Regions from separate parts of the Homo sapiens genome. Here all the other regions are linked to region 3. Evidence: promoter capture Hi-C in human tissues and cell types (Jung and others, 2019). All regions are on one chromosome and are shown on one strand. The core of a region is centred on a gene start or on the middle of the fragment in contact, and the rest is flanking DNA. Distances in the headings are between cores, read along the strand shown. Region 1 has its middle 4.1 kb from the start of PNMA1. Region 2 overlaps DNAL1 (dynein axonemal light chain 1). Region 3 holds the start of ACOT1 (acyl-CoA thioesterase 1). Region 4 overlaps NUMB (NUMB endocytic adaptor protein). Region 5 has its middle 6.1 kb from the start of MIDEAS-AS1. Region 6 overlaps NUMB (NUMB endocytic adaptor protein). Region 7 overlaps NUMB (NUMB endocytic adaptor protein).

The links. The method cuts DNA at HindIII sites, captures the fragments that hold promoters and counts their contacts. A contact is called where the count stands out against the background at its distance.
Region 1: a contact is called between a fragment that was not itself captured here and the fragment with the promoter of ACOT1 in region 3, in 2 of the 25 tissues and cell types used here (dorsolateral prefrontal cortex and hippocampus).
Region 2: a fragment that was not itself captured here is called in contact with the fragment with the promoter of ACOT1 in region 3 in 1 of the 25 tissues and cell types used here (mesenchymal stem cells).
Region 4: a contact is called between a fragment that was not itself captured here and the fragment with the promoter of ACOT1 in region 3, in 2 of the 25 tissues and cell types used here (H1 embryonic stem cells and mesenchymal stem cells).
Region 5: a contact is called between a fragment that was not itself captured here and the fragment with the promoter of ACOT1 in region 3, in 2 of the 25 tissues and cell types used here (H1 embryonic stem cells and dorsolateral prefrontal cortex).
Region 6: a contact is called between a fragment that was not itself captured here and the fragment with the promoter of ACOT1 in region 3, in 1 of the 25 tissues and cell types used here (mesenchymal stem cells).
Region 7: a fragment that was not itself captured here is called in contact with the fragment with the promoter of ACOT1 in region 3 in 1 of the 25 tissues and cell types used here (mesenchymal stem cells).

What each region holds. Positions count from the first base shown.
Region 1 is chr14:73,708,975-73,711,674 of GRCh38, reverse strand. No RefSeq gene overlaps it. Among named protein-coding and RNA genes, the nearest start is that of PNMA1, 4.1 kb to the left of the region's middle. The HindIII fragment of the contact is 7,422 bases long and covers 1-2,700 here.
Region 2 is chr14:73,684,124-73,686,823 of GRCh38, reverse strand. The region is part of intron 5 of DNAL1 (dynein axonemal light chain 1); the gene reads right to left. Among named protein-coding and RNA genes, the nearest start is that of PNMA1, 29 kb to the left of the region's middle. RefSeq lists an enhancer at 1,127-1,296. The HindIII fragment of the contact is 5,854 bases long and covers 1-2,700 here.
Region 3 is chr14:73,535,804-73,538,503 of GRCh38, reverse strand. ACOT1 (acyl-CoA thioesterase 1) reads right to left here and starts at 1,361. Exons shown (of 3, transcript NM_001037161.2): 1 at 626-1,361. The coding sequence starts at 1,082. All of the region lies in intron 1 of HEATR4 (HEAT repeat containing 4), which reads left to right. The HindIII fragment of the contact is 14,338 bases long and covers 1-2,700 here.
Region 4 is chr14:73,286,469-73,289,168 of GRCh38, reverse strand. It overlaps NUMB (NUMB endocytic adaptor protein), which reads left to right. Exons shown (of 13, transcript NM_001005743.2): 9 at 1,855-2,059. Among named protein-coding and RNA genes, the nearest start is that of PAPLN-AS1, 42 kb to the right of the region's middle. The HindIII fragment of the contact is 3,412 bases long and covers 1-2,700 here.
Region 5 is chr14:73,779,879-73,782,578 of GRCh38, reverse strand. It overlaps a transcript of MIDEAS not described here. Among named protein-coding and RNA genes, the nearest start is that of MIDEAS-AS1, 6.1 kb to the left of the region's middle. The HindIII fragment of the contact is 5,805 bases long and covers 1-2,700 here.
Region 6 is chr14:73,398,957-73,401,656 of GRCh38, reverse strand. All of the region lies in intron 2 of NUMB (NUMB endocytic adaptor protein), which reads left to right. Among named protein-coding and RNA genes, the nearest start is that of NUMB, 58 kb to the left of the region's middle. The HindIII fragment of the contact is 5,297 bases long and covers 1-2,700 here.
Region 7 is chr14:73,382,318-73,385,017 of GRCh38, reverse strand. All of the region lies in intron 2 of NUMB (NUMB endocytic adaptor protein), which reads left to right. Among named protein-coding and RNA genes, the nearest start is that of NUMB, 75 kb to the left of the region's middle. The HindIII fragment of the contact is 4,633 bases long and covers 1-2,700 here.

The DNA.
Region 1 (2,700 bases), core at 121-2,620, 170 kb before region 3:
TGTATGATACTATGTGAATTTAAATGGCAGGTCCTTTTTTTCCTTCCCCTCTTGCTGTCATCTTAACAGTTTTTTGTTTTGTTTTTTAATTTTTAAAATTTTTTATTTTTATCGGGCAGAGAGGGTCTTGCTCTGTTGCCCAGCCTGGAGTGCAATGGAGCGATCTCGGCTCACTGCAACCTCTGCCTCCCGGGTTCAAGTGATTCTCCTGCTTCAGCCTCCTGAGTAGCTGGGATTACAGACATGCGCCACCACGCCTAGCTAATTTTGTATTTTTTTAGTAGAGACGGGTTTCACCATGTTGGTCAGGCTGGTCTGGAACTCCTCACCTCAAGTGATCCACCCACCTCGGCCTCCCAAAGTGCTGGGATTACAGGCGTGAGCCACCTCGCCGTCTCTACTAAAAATACAAAAATTAGCCGGGTGTGGTGGTGCGTGCCTGTAATTCCCGCTACTTGGGAAGCTGAGTCAGGAGAATCGCTTTGGGAGGCGGAAGTTGCAGTGAGCCGAGATTGCGCCATTGCACTGCAGCCTGGGCAACAGAGTGAGACTCCATCTCAAAAAAAAAAAAAAAAAAATTTAGATACCAGATTTGGCTCACACTTGTAATCCCAGCACTTAGGGAGGATTGCCTGAAGCCAAGATTTTGAGACCAGCTTGGGCAACATAGACCCAATCTCCACCCAAACTTTTAAAAATTAGCCAGGCATGGTGGCACACGCCTGTGGTCCCAGCACTAAGGTGGCCACCCAGCGGCTAAGGTGGGACATCGCTTGAGCTCAGCAGGTTGAGGCTGCAGTAAGCCATGATCGTCCCACCGCACTCCAGCCTGGTGATAGAGTGAGACCCTGTTTCTCAAAAAATTTTTTTTTAGAAAATCTTGAAATGGGGTTCAGGAGGTTATCTGGCAGTGTTTTTCTCTTAAGATCACTTTTCAGCTAAACATTTTGTTTCACTGAAGAAATAGCTATAATTCATCACACCTGTGTAAAATGAAGGCTATTTTACAGCAACCATTTTATAGCAGGACGATATAAAAAGGGAAATACAACTTTAAAACATGTTTATTTTGCTGCAAAGATTCAGTGATTGAAGATGTCCATCTTTTGAGATCCTCAGTGAATCTAAAGTTATTACATGAATATTGTGTTCAGTGAGCCTTTCCCTAATAAGGTTTTAAAATTATAGCTGAGCCATTCGACAAGTCTATAAGGGGTAATGTATGTTCTTCCAGATTTTTCGGTACACGTATTCGCTTCATGTCAGTACATCCCTTTCCTCCTGTCACAAAAACATCTCCACATACTTGCCTTGGTTCCCAACAGATATGCTCAGCTTCACTTACCACAAACACTTGGCATGTCTTCACCTGCTACCCATCATTCACAGAACTTTCCCCTCCATTCCCACCAGCATCAGGTGCACACTCACCCCTCTTACACTCTTGACACACTGTCATCTCCCCGTCAGTACTCCCATCATAACATACACCCTCCTCCTGCTCCACATGTACACGATGTCAGTCTCCCACCCCCAACATATATTCCCATTTCTCCTCACACCCACACACACTCCCACCACCAAACACCAACCAGCCACCACATATGTATACACACTCCCACTCCACACATATACACACATACTGCATTTTTTTTTTTGAGACGGAGTCTCGCTGTGTTGCCCAGGCTGGAGTGCAGTAGCGTAATCTCAGCTCACTGCAACCTCTGTCTGTTGGGCTCAAGTGATCCTCCTGCCTCAGCCTCCCAAGTAGCTGGGATTACAGGTGTGTGCCACTACGCCCGGCTAATTTTTGTATTTTTAGTAGAGACAAGGTTTCACCATGTTGGCCGGGCTGGTCTCAAACTCCTGACCTCGTGGTTTGAAAGTACTCCAAAAATGCTGGGATTACAGGCGTAAGCCACCACAACTGGCCCACATACTACATTTTTAAAAATGGGCCCGTTGTAGTGGCTCACACCTGTAATCCCAGCACTTTGGGATGCTGAGGTGGGAGGATCACTTAAGGACAGGAGTTCAAGACCAGCCTGAGCAAAATACCAAGACCTTGTCTCCACAAAAATAAGTAAATTTAAAAATTAGCCAGGCTATTTAGGAGGCTGATGCAGGAGGATTGCTTGAGCCCAGGAGTTCAAGGTTGCAGTGATCTATGAACATGCCACCGCACTCCAACCTGGGGTGACGGAACAAGACCCTGTCTCGAAAAAAACAAAACAAAACAAAAAACCACGCACACAGATGCACCAAAAAAACAAACTAGGTATATAAGGATTATTCGGGGGGGGCGGGGGGGTTGTTTGTTTTGTTTTTTTGGTGTATGCTTGGGGTTTTTTTTTTTTTGGCCCAATATGTTATGGACATCCTTCTACAGTTTAAACATGGGGGGATAGACCTTCTTTTCATAGATGCAGAGTTGGCTGCATTCTTAGGAGGGAAGTTATTTTCATGCACGTCCGTGTGAAGAGAGCACCAAACAGGCTTTGTGTGAGTAACGTGGCTGTTTATTTCACCTGGGTGCAGGCGGGCTGAGTCCGAAAAGAGAGTCAGCAAAGGGTGGTGGATTATCATTAGTTCTTATAGATTTTGGGATAGGCGCTGAAGTTAAGAGCAATGTTTTGCGGGCAGGGGTGGATCTCACAAAGTACATTCTCAAGGGTGGGGAGAATTACAAATAACCTTCTT
Region 2 (2,700 bases), core at 26-2,525, 150 kb before region 3:
GGCTTTTTCTAAGAACACACTATTAAATAATAGAGCTAGGTCTAAAATTCAGGGTCTTCTCCAACATTTATTATGATGATTTTCAAACATAAAAAAGTTGTTTTTTGTTTTGTTTTGAGACAGGGTCTCACTCTGTCACCCAGACTGGGGTGCAGTGTCACACTCACAGCTAACTGCAGCCTCAACCTCCCCCGGGCTCAAGCAATCCTCTCACCTCAGCCTCCCTAGTAGCTGGGACTACAGGTGCACACTACCACATCTGGCTAATTTTTGTCTTTTTGGTAGAGATGGGTTTTGTAGAGATGTTGTCCAGGCTGGTCTTGAACTCCTGGACTCAAGGGATCTGCCCGCCTCGGCCTCCCAAAGTGCTGGATTAAGGCATGAGCCACTGTGCCCAGCCAATAATACAATTTCCTGTAAGTATTTGTTAAGTAGATAATAAAGACAAGATTTTTGTGAAGCAGTCTAGTGAATATCAATGAGGAAAACCTGGCAAAGTTTGAGTGAATCAATTCAGTGAAATCTGTCATTAAATAAGCTGACTCTTTCGAGAATTGGACAATAACTGAACAGTCATTTAGCAAACTGGTCAGCTTCTGCATGTAAACAAGCCATTTCTCCCCTCAGTTTCTTACTCTGTAAAATGAGGAGACTGGCGCAATGAAATACCATCTCATACCCATTAGGATAGCTACTATCAAAATCACAGAAAATAGTAAGTATTAGTGAGGATGTGGAGAAATTGGAACCTTGTACACGGTTGGCAGGGAGGTAAAATGGTGCAGCTGCTATGGAAAACAATTTGGCCGTTCCTTAAAAAATTAATTATCATATGATAATTGATATCACTTAACAGGGGATCCAGCCATTCCACTTCGGGGCACATATTCAGAAGAAATGAAAGTGGGATCTCGAGATATTGGTACGCCCATGTTCACAGTAGCAAATTCACAATAGCCAAAAGATGGACGTGACCCAAGTGTCCACTGATAGACAAACGGATAAACAAAACATGGTATATACATACCGTAATAGAATATCATTTAACATTAAGCAGGAATGGGCTGGGTGCAGTGGCTCACATCTGTAATCCCAATACTTTGGGAAGCCAAGGCGGGCGGCTCACCTTAGGTCAGGAGTTTGAGACCAGCCTGGCCAACATGGTGAAATCCCATCTCTAATAAAAATATAAAAAAATTAGCCGGGCATGGTGGCACATGCCTGTAGTCCCAGCTACTTTGGCGGCTGAGGCAGAAGAATCACTTGAACCTGGGAGGTAGAGGTTGGAACGAGCCAAAATTGCGCAACTGCACTCCAGCCTCAGCGATACAGTGAGACTCAGTCTCAAAAAAAAAAAAAAAAATTAAGCAGAAAGGAAATTCTGACACACGCTACAACATGGATGAAACTTGAGGATATTACGCTAAGTTAAATAAGCCAGTCACAAAAAGATAAATGCTGTATGATACTACTTATATGAAATACCTAGAGTAGTTAAATTCGTAAAGACGGAAAGTGGAATGGTGGGTGCCAGGGATCAGGGAAGAGGCAGTAGGAAGCTACTGTATGCTTACAGAGGTTCAGACACACAAGATGAAGAGAGTTCTGGAGATGGATGGTGATGGTTGTGCAAGTCTACTTACTACCACTGAACTATACACTTAAAAATGTTTTAGATGGTAAACTTTATGTTATGTATATTTCACCACCATAAAAAACATTGGAAAAAATGAGGAAGTTGGACAAGTTCTTTAAGGTTCCTCTCAGCTATTAAAATTTATGATTTTTTAAGGTCAACAAACCATTGTAAGTATTGAAAACAAAAAAGTAAATGTCTACTCTGTAAATAATATCATGTTGGAGGTTACAGAAGTGGGAGAGCTTTATGAAATGCCATAAAATCTATTTTTTTAGTTTGTTTTTTAGTTTAGAGACAGAGTCTCGATCTGTTACGCAGGCTGCAGTACAGGGCACAATCAGGTCACTGCAGCCTTGAACTCCTGGGCTCAAGTGATCCTCCTGCCTCAGCCCCCTGAGTAGTTAGAACAGGCACGTGCCACCATGCTTGGCTAATTTAAAAAAATTTTTTTTTGTAGAGACAAGAGTCTCACTATGTTGTCTAGGCTGGTCTCAAACTCCTGGCCTCAAGCAATCCTGCCTCGACCTCCCAAAGTGCTAGGACTATAGGCGTGAGCCACCATGCCCAGCTGACCTCTATTTTAGACTATATGTAATGAGGATGATGATGATGATTATTGCTCTGTATAAAGTAATGAATCCAGGTAACACAATGTTGCTTGAAAATTGTTGTGGGGATGTGATTTATAAACAGTTAAGAATTGTTGGTAGGTAGTTGATTACATGTTAAGTATACAAAAATAAATGGCTTTTATATTATTTAATATAAACAGGAAGGGTGTTAAAGAGAAATGCATCATAGCAACAAAAACTATAAATTACCCAGGAAATTAAAAATAGAACTACCATATGATTCAGCAATCTCACTACAGGGTATATAGCCAAAAGAAATGAAAACAGTATGTCGAAGAGATAGCTATCAGCACTCCCATGTTTACTGCAGCACTATTCACAATAGCCAAAATATGGAATCAACCTAAGTGTCCAATAATGAATGAATGTATAAAGAAAATATGGTATATCACACAATGGAATACTATTCAGCCATAAAAAAGCATGAAA
Region 3 (2,700 bases), core at 112-2,611:
GTAGCTGGGACGACAGGCGCCCGCTACCACGCCCGGCTAATTTTTTGTATTTTTAGTAGAGACGAGTTTTCACCGTGTTAGCCAGGATGGCCTTGATCTCCTGACGTCGTGATCCGCCCGCCTCGGCTTCTCAAAGTGCTGGGATTACAGGCGTGAGCCAGCGCGCCCAGCCCTTACAATGTCTTTTAACTGAGCACTAGGTTTGAGGGACCTCTCAGTTTTGGAGCGGCAGGGGCAATTCCCCAACCAACTTTCCATTCCATTCCTGTCTCCTTACACTAACCTCCGGAATGTTGGAAGCTACATCCTTTCTCCGTATGAAAAGCGCAGGGACGAAAAAAAATAAAAATAAAAAAATAAGTGTAACTCCCCTCAAAGGGCCGGGCGCAGTGGCTCACCCTGCAATCCTAGCTCTTGGGGAGGCAGAGGCGGGAGGATAGCTTGGGTCCAGGAGTTCAAGACCTACCTGGGCAACATAGCCCGGGGTGGTGGTGGTGGGGCGGGAGGAGGGACACACACACAAGCGAAAAGAGCGGGGCGGGGCGAAGGGGACACACACACACACACAGTGGAAAGCGCAGGAACAGGGATGGGCAGAGGGGAACAATTAGCGGAGGTGAGTCACCTGGCGGCAGGAAGAGCGTGCCTCGCACCCGGCCCGCGCGCACCGGCTCGCGCCGCACCCCGGGCGGGAGGAAGTAGCGCTCGTGCCGCACCCGGCACAGCAGCCGCCCGGGGTCGGGGTCGTGGCCATCCAGCACCTCCAGCTCCACGGCCAAGGGCGTTCGCACGTCGCGCTTCACCAGCCGCACCAAGGGTTTCTCGGGCTCCAAGGCCCAGAGCAGCCCCATGGGCTCAAGCCCCGCGAAGCTGCCGCCCAGCGCGGGCGCGCGCTCCAGGTCCAGCTCGCCAAGGGTGTCGGCGCGGTAGCGCGCGTGGGCCTGGAAAAGCGCGCCCTTCTCGTCGCGCAGGGACGCGCGCAGCGTGACCGGCTGCTCCGGGGCTAGGCCGCGCACGGCGATTCGCACCGGTTCGTCCCAGCAGCAGCGGCCCGCGGGCTCCAGGATCAGCGTCGCCGCCATCCGAGCAGGAACCCAAATAATCCGGCCAAACTGCCTCAGCTGTGGAGACCCCTGCAACTCTGCCCAACTCTTCCTCTCGGGCTGCCGTCGCAGGCTAAACGCCCACTAGGGCAGAGCTGTCTGCTAATGTGAGCGGGGAAGGCCAGAGTCCAGCCGATCAGCCAGACCAAATATAGACACACTGGAACTTGCTTAAAGTCTCCTGTGTTGAAACCTCCACTTTATGTTGGAAAGCAACTTCCTAGGTTTGCTTTTCAGAAGCTTGCTGGCTCGCGGAATGGGCTGGGCCAGGACTGGTTCGTCCCGGCTACTCGGGAGGCTGAGGCAGGAGAATGGCGTGATCCCGGGGGGTGGAGCTTGCAGTTGGCCAAGATCATGCCACTGCACTACAGCCTGGGCGACAGAGCGAAAGTCCGTCTCAGAAAAAAAAAAAAACAACAACAACCAGGCAGCTAGCAGTCTCCAGGCTCCAAACTCCTGATGGCGAAGAGGAATGCAGGACTGGAGTTGGTTTTGATCACTTTGTTGAATAATTCACACTCATTACTAATCTTAGGGCTTTTCTTTCAAAATCTGCACCATGGTGTTTTGCTTTCGTGTTCTCTGTATATGCCTATCCTCCACATCACTCCCACATCGAAGGGTGCTGGCTTCTTACTAGCTGTGTGACCTCTGAGCTTTATTCCTTACAGGTGTAAAAATAGCCAAATGAGGTAATAGTTATTAATTTCTCGAACTCCTGACTTTGTGATCCGCCCGCCTCGGCCTCCCAAAGTGCTGGGATTTACAGGCGATGAGCCACCGCGCCCGGCCAATAGTTATTATTTTCTTATACTGGTTTCTCATTTTTGTCCCAGTCAGGCAAGTGTTACCTCTCATCTTTTTTTTTTTTTTTTTTTTTTTTTAAAGAGACAGGGTCTCACTACGTTGCCAGTCTGGAGTACAGCGGCGGTTTACCATCACTGCGCACTTACAAGCCTCAAACTCCTGGGCTAAAGCCATCTTCCTGCCTCAGCCTCTCAAACACCTCAAGGGACTACCGGCGCTCCCCATGCATTGGGCTTTTTTCTACTTTTTCATAGGCTATTGGTTCCAACCAGAGGTGGTTTTTTTTTTTCATCAAACTTAAGCTTTAGGCCCCTCCCAAGCCCTTGTACCTGATTTCATAATTTCCTATCTTGGTAATTAGAGAAACCTATAAATGCGTAAGCTTCAAACTCACAAAACCTGTGTTTGCCTCTGCTCCTAATAAGGCTGTCCTCAAGGTAAGCCTTTTTATCTCTTTCCAAATGCTCTCATGTCCCATGTCCCATGTCATTATCATACAACTCCCTGTTAGTTGTAATTACCTTTGTATAGGTTCTGTGGCACACATCAAGTATATTCTGTGCATAGAAGTCTCAGGAACTAAAGAAGGTAAATAATAGTAGCTAATTGTTAATACTTACAAGAACCGTAGTAGTAAATTAAGGCCCAGAGAATTTAACTGATTTTCTGAAGATCATACAGCTGGGAAGTGGAAGTTGGGTGAGGTGGCTCACGCCTATAATCCCAGTTTACTTGGAGGCTGAGGTGGCAGGGTTTCTTAAGGCCAGGAGTTTCAGACCAACCTGGATAA
Region 4 (2,700 bases), core at 156-2,655, 250 kb after region 3:
AGAGGAAGATAGGAAGGGTATGGGGGAAAACCTAAAAGCACGGAGGGCCATAAATGAGGAGGGTTGCTTAGAGGGGGGATTCAGAAAGGGGAGACAGCAAAGCTTTTGTCTCATTGTTAGTTTTGTTTGTTTGTTTGTTTTTTGAGACAGGGTCTCATTATGTCACCCAGGCTGGAGTGCAGTGGCACAATTAGAGCTTACTGTAGGCTTAAGTGATCCTCCCACCTCCCAAGTAGGACCACAGACACACACCACCACCACACTCGACTAATTTTTTCTTTTTCTTTTTTTTTAATTATTATTTTTTTTGAGACGGAGTTTTGCTCTTGTTGCCCAGGCTGGAGTGCAATGGCACGATCGTGGCTTACTGCAACCTCCACCTCCTGGGTTCAAGTGATTCTCCTGCCTCAGCCTCCCGAGTAGCTGGGATTACAGGCATGCGCCATCATGCCTGGCTAATTTTGTATTTTTAGTAGAGACAGGGTTTCTCCATGTTGGTCAGGCTGGTCTTGAACTCCTGACCTCAGGTGATCCGCCCACCTCAGCCTCCCAAAGTGCTGGGATTATAGGCATGAGCCACTGTGCCCGGCCTTTATTTTGATTTTTATTTATTTTTTGAGACGGAGTTTTGCTCTTGTTGCCCAGGCTGGAGTGCAATGGCGCCATCTCAGCTCACAGCAACCTCTACTTCCCGACTTCAAGCAATTCTCCTGTCTCAGCCTCTCAAGTAGCTGGGATTACAGGCACCCGCCACCACATCCGGCTAATTTTTGTATTTTTAGTAGAGACGGGGTTTCGCCACGTTGGGCAGGCTGGTCTCGAGCTCCTGACCTCATGATCCACCCATCTCAGCCTCCCAAAGTGCTGGGATTACAGGTGTGAGCCATCGCACCTGGCCTAATTTTTTTTATTATTTTGGTAGAGACAGAGTCTCACTGTGTTATCCAGGCTGGTCTCAAACTCCTGGGCTCAAGCAATTTGCCCATCTCAGCCTCCCAAAGTGCTGGGATTACAGATGTGAGCCACCATGCCCAGCCTCATTCCTTTTTAATCACTGGAATTATATTTGTTTATCAGAAGTTTTAAGTTTGCACCTTTTTTTCCTAGACATATTAACAGTGCATTAAGCTCCTGAAATTTGCCTTGCCTTTCCAGTAGTTTCTTAGAAGTGGCTGGTAAATATTCCCACTGCTTCCCCAAAGGGCAACTAGAAGCTTGCATGTCAAGGCTTGAAACCTTGCATAGAGTCTTCTAAGCTGTTGGCCAGGGCTGACATGACAGAGCCTAAGTGATAAAGAGTTCTCCATGGCTGCTTACAAAAGCACAGGTTGCTGGTTATCACTTTACCCCAAGGCTTGTAACAGTGAATTGAACCATCATAAGCACTACCTTAGAAAATTTATTCATTTAAATTAATATGGCATACTAATCTATTAAAACAATTTTAAGCTGGAATTTGCAACATCTTGCTTTCATAAAAACAGACATTTGGGCCGAGTGTGGTGGCTCATGCCTGTAATCCCAGCACTTTGGGAGGCTGAATTGGGTAGACCACTTGAGGCCAGGAGTTGGAGACCAGCCTGCCCAACATAGCAAAACCCCATCTCTACTAAAAATACAAAAATTAGCCAGGTGTGGTGGTGCGTGATTGTAGTCCCAGCTACTCAGGAGGCTGAGGCACGAGAAGTATTTGAGCCCGGAGGCAGAGGTTGCAGTGAGCAGAGACTGCGCCACTGCACTCCAGCCTGGGTAACAGTAAGACTCTGTCTCAAAAACAAAACAAAACAAAAGACTTATTTGTATGTAATTGTTAGTAGTGTAATTCTGAAAAGCTTTTAAAATCTGCTCTTACAGGGTGAAAGGTTGAGCCATGCAGTAGGCTGTGCTTTTGCAGCCTGTTTAGAGCGCAAGCAGAAGCGGGAGAAGGAATGTGGAGTGACTGCTACTTTTGATGCTAGTCGGACCACTTTTACAAGAGAAGGATCATTCCGTGTCACAACAGCCACTGAACAAGCAGAAAGAGAGGAGATCATGAAACAAATGCAAGATGCCAAGAAAGGTACAATCTGTTCTACAGTGTGTATTTATGGAATGCAGTTTTTCCCAACAAGGTATTATTTTGAAGCTACCAGGGGTAAATTTTCTCATAATCAAAGAGAACCCTTAGCAATATAAAACCTTATAACAAAGTTGAAAATCTTAAAAACCGCTTCCTTTAGAGTGGCTAGTTTAATGGCTTCAAAAATATTTACTCCATTATAGTAAGCTATCTGAGGAATCAGAGTGCAGTTGAAGAAGCTGCAGAGACATCTCTTACCCCCTTCCTCCCATCCTGAAATACCTTTTTAATTCTGATGTATCTGATCTCTTTGAGAAGCAAATGAATCAAGTACCTGCATCTTAAAGGAAGCAGCAGAGGTCCCAGGGCTTAAGGCTGCAAAGCATCCACGGACTATGATGCTAGCAGAGAGATTTAACAGTAATACTGTTTATATGATATTATTGCTGTTTTTTAGTGCTTTCTAGTCACAAAAGTCTATAGATTTTGAGAGGTAAGCCTATAACTCTTTTTTTCTATAGCCCTGTTAATTTAATTTAGTGTGTGATTTTATAGAGTGTGAGTTTTATTTAGGTACACATGGCATCACAGCAGAAATGCCTGTACAAACATTCAAGTTAGTTGGCAGTCTATAAATGTGA
Region 5 (2,700 bases), core at 132-2,631, 240 kb before region 3:
GCGGAAGGATCACTTGAGCCTAGAAGTTCAAGACCAGCCTAGGCAATGTGGCAAGACCCCTTCTCTGTAAAAAAATGCAAAAAATTAGTCAGGCACGGTGGCACGTGCCTGTAGTCCCAGTTACTTGGGAGGCTGAGGTAGGAGGATTGCATGCCACTGCACTCCAGCTTGGGTGACAGAGATTCTCTCTCTCTCTTCATATATCTATATATATATATAGACTGTGAGGAGGGCAAAGTGAGGCTTCCTGGTTGGCCGCATGCTTGTTTTGCCCAAATAGGTGTTGAACTTACAAAACCAGGCTAAACTATAAAACTGAGTTTTGGGGAGATCCTGGCTGAACCCTAGCATTGGACTTGGCTAGGAGGACTGTGTTGCCTTTAGCCAGTCCTCATGCTGTTAATCACAACCTTGCCTCATAAGCCAGATTCTTTCTTTTTTGAAAAATAATTCACATACTATAAAATGCACGTATAAGCTAGATTCTTTTAACGTTTTGTTTTATTTAAAAATAGAATCTGGTAGATTCCTGTTTTTTACTCTACCCAGGCTGGAGTGAAGTGGTGTGATCTTGGCTCACTGCAACCTCCGCACCCCAGGTTCAAGCGATTCTCCTGCCTCAGCTTCCTGAGTAGCTGGGATTATGGATGTCTGCCACCACGCCCGTCTAATTTTTGTGTTTTTAGTAAAGACAAGGTTTCCCCATGTTGGCCAGGCTGGTCTTGAACCCTTGACTTCGGGTGATCCACCCGCCTTGGCCTCCCTAACCTCAAAAAGTGTTGAGATTACAGGCGTGCGCCACCGTGTCTGGCCTGAAGTCAGTTTTTTTTTTTTTTTTTTTTTTGAGACAGAGTTTCGCTCTTGTTGCCCAGGCTGGAGTGCAATGGCACGATCTTGGCTCACCATAATCTCTGCCTGCCGGGTTCAAGTGATTCTACTACCTCGGCCTCCCGAGTAGCTGGGATTACAGGCATGCGCCACCACACCTGGCTAATTTTGTATTTTTAGTAGAGACAGGGTTTCTCCATGTTGGTCAGGCTGGTCTCGAACTCCCAACTTCAGGTGATCTGCCCTCCTCCGCCTCCCAAAGTGCTGGGATTACAGGCATGAGCCACCGCGGCTGGCCTGAAGTCAGTTTTAATTGAAAGTTCTTAATAAACATAAAAGGGTGAAACTGGGATTTACATATTTCTGAAAAGTTATGTATAAACTGAGTTTAATAAATCAACATTTTTTCAGATGTGCTATTTTACAAAATAATCAACTTTTAGAATTGGATAGGATCTTACGGACTGTTATCATCCAGCCCCAGTTTTATAGTAACTGTAGTAACAGCATCTCCGATAATCCCATGGTTAAGGATTTAAAGCTTGGAAGGAAACCTGTGCTAACTCTCATTTTAACTGAGGCTTAGAGAGGATAAGTTCCTTCTCCAAGTTCCCACAGCTGTTGAATGGAAGAGTCAGGCACAAACCCCATTCTCCATTTCCACTGGCCATCCTGCATTGATAATTAGTCATCATAATCGTCAGTTTCAGCAGGTCTATTTGTAAACCAAGGACTCCATCTTCTCAGTTTCCCTAAGGCAGTACTCAAAGATTTAAAAAGGTGAAACTTAACAACAACAACAACAACAAAAAAACAAAAAAAACTAGGGGTGAAGAAGAGGTCTTTAAGAAGAGAGTGGGATGCGTATTTAATAGCTTTTACCATTGTATTATCTCATTGTAGTCTTAGTGGATCTTAATTGCTATCAAAGCCCCCAAAGTTTCCTACCCAGGCTCAGTTGGCCAACAAGATTACTTACTGTTTTCTAAGTGCAGAACATGGGTTAAACAACACCAAGAAGACAGAGGAATGCTCCCAGTTCCCAAGACACAGGCAGGAGAAGGCCCAGGAACACAGGCATGGCACTCTTTGAACAGCCAGTTAATGCAGGGCCAACTGTCCTCACCGGCCATTTGTGGAACAGCTGCAGTGCTGTCAACCATGTGAGTGTGGAAAGCAGAGTGCCACATGCTCCTTACCCCCAGGAGGCTTCAAGCCTAGCTCCTGAGATAGGTCATACCCATGCATGAGTGAGTGAAAGAATGAAGAACCCGAGGAATAGTCCCTTATAAACCATGACGGGGAAGGTCACTACTGTTACGGCTATGGCCACTTTTCTTTTTCTCCATAACTGGGGAAGTCAGATCCTAAATGCTTGTGGTCAGCACAGCTTCCATGGAGAGATGGTGGAAGAAATCCTGACCCTTTCCATCACCTCTAGAGCAAGTGGAAGAGGGTGGGATGGGGGAAGAACTGAGAGTGGATCTGTCACTGGGAGAGTATAATTTGATGGAGTGGCGTTTTCTGAGGTTCAGATTCTAAAGTCAGTGTGTAATATGAAATATAAAAATATAATCGGCCGGGCGCGGTGGCTCACGCCTGTAATCGCAGCACTTTGGGAGGCCGAGGCTGGTGGATCATGAGGTCGGGAGATGGAGACCATCCTGGCTAACACGGTGAAACCCCATCTCTACTAAAAAATACAAAAAAATTAGCTGGGCGTGGTGGCAGGCACCTGTAGTCCCAGCTACTCGGGAGGCTGAGTCGGGAGAATGGTGTGAACCCGGGAGGAGGAGCTTGCAGTGAGCTGAGATGGTGCCACTGCACTCCAGCCTGGGCAACAGAGCAAGACTCTGTCTCAAAAAAAAATAA
Region 6 (2,700 bases), core at 124-2,623, 140 kb after region 3:
TGGAGCTTGCAGTGAGCCAAGGTCATGCCACTGCACTCCAGCCTGGGCGACAGAGCGAGACTCCGTCTCAAAAAAAAAAAAAAAAAAAAAAAATTTAGTCTTACATATTTTGTTAGTGGTTTCCGTTGTACACATGGATGTGCTCTGGTGCCTTTGACATGAACCTTCCAGATCTGTACTTCTTTGTTTTGTTTGTTTATAGCCAGTTAGTCATTATTGGTTCATGAGTACCATCCCCTGTTTTTTTTTTTGTTAGTTTTGGAAGACTTAATTTTTTTAGAACAGTTTCAGGTTTATAGCAAAATTGAGCAAAAAAAATACAGAGAGTTTCCATATACCTGTTGCCCCCACAAACCCACAGCCTTTCTTACTGTCAACATTCCTTACCAGAATAGTACACAGGAGATATAAGAAAAATCAAACCAATACAAACTCAGTATAACACAGCACCTCTGGTCACCAAAATGCGTGGGGATTTCTATCTACCAGCAACCCAGTCAATTCTTTGGCAGACACCAGCTGGGTATCCTACATTTTAACTCAATTCTGACATTATTTACTTGGAGATAGAATCAGATCCCACAGGTTGAGGGCTCAATCCCCTACTTAAATTGCAAGCCCCACGTTGTGTCCTGTGCTTCTGGCTGATTAGCCATAAATTGGGGTTACCACAGCTCCCTCTTTTGGTTCAATTAATTTGCTAGAGTGGCTCACAGAACTCAGGGAAACACTTCATTTACATTTATTGGGTTATCATAAAGGGTATTACAAAGGAGACAGATGGAAGAGATGCATAGGGCAAGGTATGTGGAAAGGGGCATGCCATGCCTTCTTCAGGTGTGCCACCCTCCTGGAACCTCCAAGTGTTCATCTATCCGGAAGCTCTCCAAACCCTGTCCTTTCGGGTTTTTATGGAAGCCTCATTACATAGGCATGATTGATTAAGTCATTGGCCATTTGTAATCAGCTTACCCTTCAGCTCCTCTTCCCTCTCTGGAGGTTGGGGGCAACCCTCTTATCATGCCTTGGTCTTTCAGGTGACCAGCCCTTATCCTTGAAGCTATCTAGAGATGTCCAGCCACTGTCATCTCATTAGCATGTAAAAGATACTCATCACTCCAGAGGTGCCAATGGTTTTATGAGGTATATGTCAGGAAAGGGCAAGAAGACCAATTATATGTTTCATAATTTGTTATAATCGATAAACCCACATTGACACATTATTTTCACCCTAAGTCCTTAGGTTACATTAGAGTTTATTCTTGGTGTTGTACTTTCAAGGATTTTGGCAAATGTAATGACATGCATCCACCACTGTAGTATCATGCAAAATAGGTTTACTACCCCAAAGATTCTCTGTGCTCTGGCTGTCCATCCCTTCCTCTCACCTAACCTTTGGTAACCACTGATCCTTTTCCTGTCTCCATAGTTGTGCCTTTTCCAGAATGTCATATAGTTGGAATCATATGGTATATGTAGCCTTTTCAGATTGGCTTCTTTCACTTAGTAGTGTGCATTTAAAGTTCTTTCATGTCTGCTCTTCATGACTTGCTAGCTCACTTGCTTGCTTATTCATTTATATATTTTTACTTTTTTGTTTTTTTTTGTTTTTGTTTTTGAGACAGAGTCTCACTCCATCGCCCAGGCTGGAGTGCAGTGGCACGATCTCAGCTCACTGCAACCTCCATCTCCTGCGTTCAAACGATTCTCCTGCCTCAGCCTCCCGAGTAGCTGGGATTACAGATGCCACGACATCCAGCTAATTTTTTTATTTTTGTAGAGATGGGGTTTCTCCATGTTGGCTAGGCTGGTCTTGAACTCCTGACCTCAAGTGATCCACTGGCCTTGGCCTCCCAAAGTGTTGGGATTACAGGTGTGAGCCACCATGCCTGGCCTGTTTATTTTTTAGAGACAGGCTCTTGCTGTGTTGCCCATGCTGGAGTGCAGTGGTGTAGTCATTGTTCACTGTAAGCTCAAACTCCTGGCCTCAAGCAGTCCTCCTAGTTTAGCCTCTGGAGTTGTTGGAATTACAGATGTCAGCCACTGCATATGGCTAAGCCTTTTTTTCTCTGGCATATTTTTTTTTCTTTTTTGAGACATAGTTTCTCTCTTGTCGCCCAGGCTGGAGTGCAATGGCACAATCTCGGCTCACTGCAGCCTCTGTGTCCTGGGTTCAAGCAATTCTCCTGCCTCAGCCTTCCAAGTAGCAGAGATTATAGGCATGCGCCACCACACCCGGCTAATTTTGTATTTTTAGTAGAGACAGGGTTTCTCCATTTTCGTCAGGCTGGTTTCTAACTCCGGACCTCAGGTGATCTGCCCGCCTCAGCCTCCCGAAGTGCCAGGATTATAGGCGTGAGCCGCTGTGCCCGGCTCTGGCATATTTTCAGTCCATAGCTGGTTGAACCCATGGATGTGGAGGGCCAACTATTTAATATGCTTAATGTAAGTAAGTGCTTATTTTTGAAATATTTTCATATTGTTTTGTGTGTATGTGTTTTTAATCCGTATAATGGTATTATGCTGTGAATCTATTTATTCTTTTTTGATCAAAAAAAGGAATTATGGAAGCGCATACTGTATTTGTAAATCTAGTTTACAACAACTGACTGTTGTATAATGTTCCATTGTATATGTATTTCCACATTTTACTTGTATGTTTCTCTAATAATTGATACCTAGGTGTGTTGAAAACTAAAA
Region 7 (2,700 bases), core at 35-2,534, 150 kb after region 3:
GGAGGCTAAGGCAGGAGAATCGCTTGAACCTGGGAGGCAGAGGTTACAGTGAGCCGAAATTGTGCCATTGCACTCCAGCCTGGGCAGCAAGAGCGAAACTCCGTCTCAAAAAAAAAAAAAAAAAAAAATTACAGTTATTTGGCTGGGCATGGTGGCTCACACCTGTAATCTCAGCATTTTGGGAGGCCGAGGCAGGAGGATCACTTGAGCTCCAGAGTTCAAGACCAGCCTAGGCAACATGGCAAGACCTCATCTCTAACAAACAAACAAACAAACAAACAAAAAAGCCAGGCGTGGTGGCACGTGCCTATAATCTCAGCTACTTGGAAGGCTGAGGTGGGAGGATGGTTTGAGCCTCGGAGGCAGAGGTTGCAGTTAGCCAAGATCACCCTATGGCACTCCAGCGTAGGCGAGAGAGCCAGACCCTGTCTCAAAAAAAATTATAGTTTTTTAATTTTATGCATGTATTTCTTCTTTCTTGTATGTATTGTTGATTCTTTCCTGTGTTACTGTGCTTCCATCTGGGATTATTTTCTTTCTTCATAGACTGCACTTTTCTTTTAAGTGTAAGTCTATTGGTAATGAGTGTTCTATTTTTGTCTGAAAGCATTTTTAGAAATTTTGTCTTAAGCCAGGTGAGGTGGCTCAAGCCTGTAATCCCAACCTTTTGGGAGGCCGAGGCGGGTGGATCATGAGGTCAGGAGATCGAGACCATCCTGGCTAACACAGTGAAACCCCGTCTCTACTAAAAAATATAAAAAATTAGCTGGGCATGGTGGTGGGCCCCTATAGTCCCAGCTACTCAGGAGGCTGAGGCAGGAGAATGGTGTGGAGGAAGACTCCGTCTCAAAAAAAAAAAAAGAAATTTTGTCTTAATTTTAAAAGGATAGTTTTATTGGGCATAGAATTCCAGGTTGGCAGTTCTTTTCTTTCAGCATTTTAAATATATCATTTTATTGCCTTCTGACTTCATTGTTTCTATTTTATTTATTTATTTTTTTGAGACAGAGTCTCACTCTGTCGCCCAGGCTGGAGTGCAGTGGCATGATCTTGGCTCACTGCAACCTCTGCCTCCTGAGTTCAAGCGGTTCCTCTGCCTCAGCCCCTCCCAGTAGCTGGGACTATAGGCGCGTCCCACCATGCCTGGCTAATTTTTGTATTTTTTGTAGAGACAGGGTTTTACCATGTTGGCCAGGCTGGTCTCGAACTCCTGACCTCAGGTGATCTGCCCACCTCAGCCTCCCAAAGTGCTGGTATTACAGATGTGAGCCACCGTGCCCAGCCCCCCATTGTTTTTATTAGAGAAGCAATGTCTTCGGTTTTTAGCAGTTTTCAGTAAGATGCTTACGTGGTTTTCTTTCATGCTTTTTATGATTTTCATCATTTAAGATGTTTCAGGTCCGGAGATCCTCTAGGATCTGTAGCTTGATGTCTTTTGTCAGGTTTGGAATATCTCTTCTGATATTGCTTCTGTCTCATTCTTTCAGTTCCCTCTGGGATTCTAGATAACTGTATGTTAGATCTTTCTCTGCATCTCACATGTCTCTCATGCTCTTTTCTGTATTTTCTATCTTTTTCTTTGTGCTCCATCTAGATATTTTCTGTTGACCTTTTTTCTAGTTCAGTTAATGTTCAGTCTGCTATTAAAAGCATCTGCTATATTGTTAGTTTTATATTATGTATTTTTTAGTTCTCGATTTTCAATTTAACTTTTTTTTTGTTTTCATAGATTCCAGTTCTCTGGTGAAATTCTCATCTTGTCCTCTATTTTCCTGAACATATTAATCACAATTATTTAAAGTCTGTGTGTGGTAATTAACAATGTCTGGATCCCTGGATCCCCATTTGATCTTTCTCTTTTTTTATTTTTTGAAGACAGAGTTTTGATCTGTCACTGAGGCTGGAGTGCAGTGGCACAATCTCAGCTCACTGCAACCTCTGCCTCATGGGTTCAAGTAATTCTTGTGCCTCAGCCTCCCAAGTAGCTGGGATTACATATGTGTGCCACCACGCCTAGCTGATTTTTGTATTTTTGGTAGAGACAGGGTTTTGCCATATTGGCCAGGTTGGTCTCAAACTCCTGCCCTCAAGTGATCTGCCCACCTCAGCCTCCCAAAGTGCTGGGATTACAGGCATGAGCCACTGTGCCCAGCTCCTATTTGATCTTTTCCTATTGTCTTCTTTTTTTCTCTTGATTTTCAGTCATTTGGTTCTGTCTCCTAGCATTCCTGGTCATTTTAAAAATGAATGTCAAACATCATATATGGGAAATAATAGAGGCTCTTTATGATGATACTGTTCTGTAGAGAGGATTTGTTTTTCTCCTCTCTGATGGTAGTTAAAAGTAGGAGTAGATGACATTGTTGTAATATGGACTTGAGATGATCTGAGGCTTTGTTTTATGGTTCTCAAGGGCTGGTTTAAATCTAGTTTCCACTTCAAGAGTATTGTATTTCAGAGGTACCAGAGGTACCTAGGGTATGTGTCAGGGCCTCTCCTTCTTGTCAGGCCCTGGACTCTTAATTTTTCTGTGAGACTACCTAAAGTTCTGCTTACTTTTTTTTTTTTTTGCTATAAAAATAGGCACTTTGGCTGGGCGCAGTGGCACTTTGGGAGGCTGAGGCAGGTGGATCACCTGAGGTCAGGAGTTCAAGACCAGCCTGGCCAACATGGTAAAACCCTGTCTCTACTAAAAATACA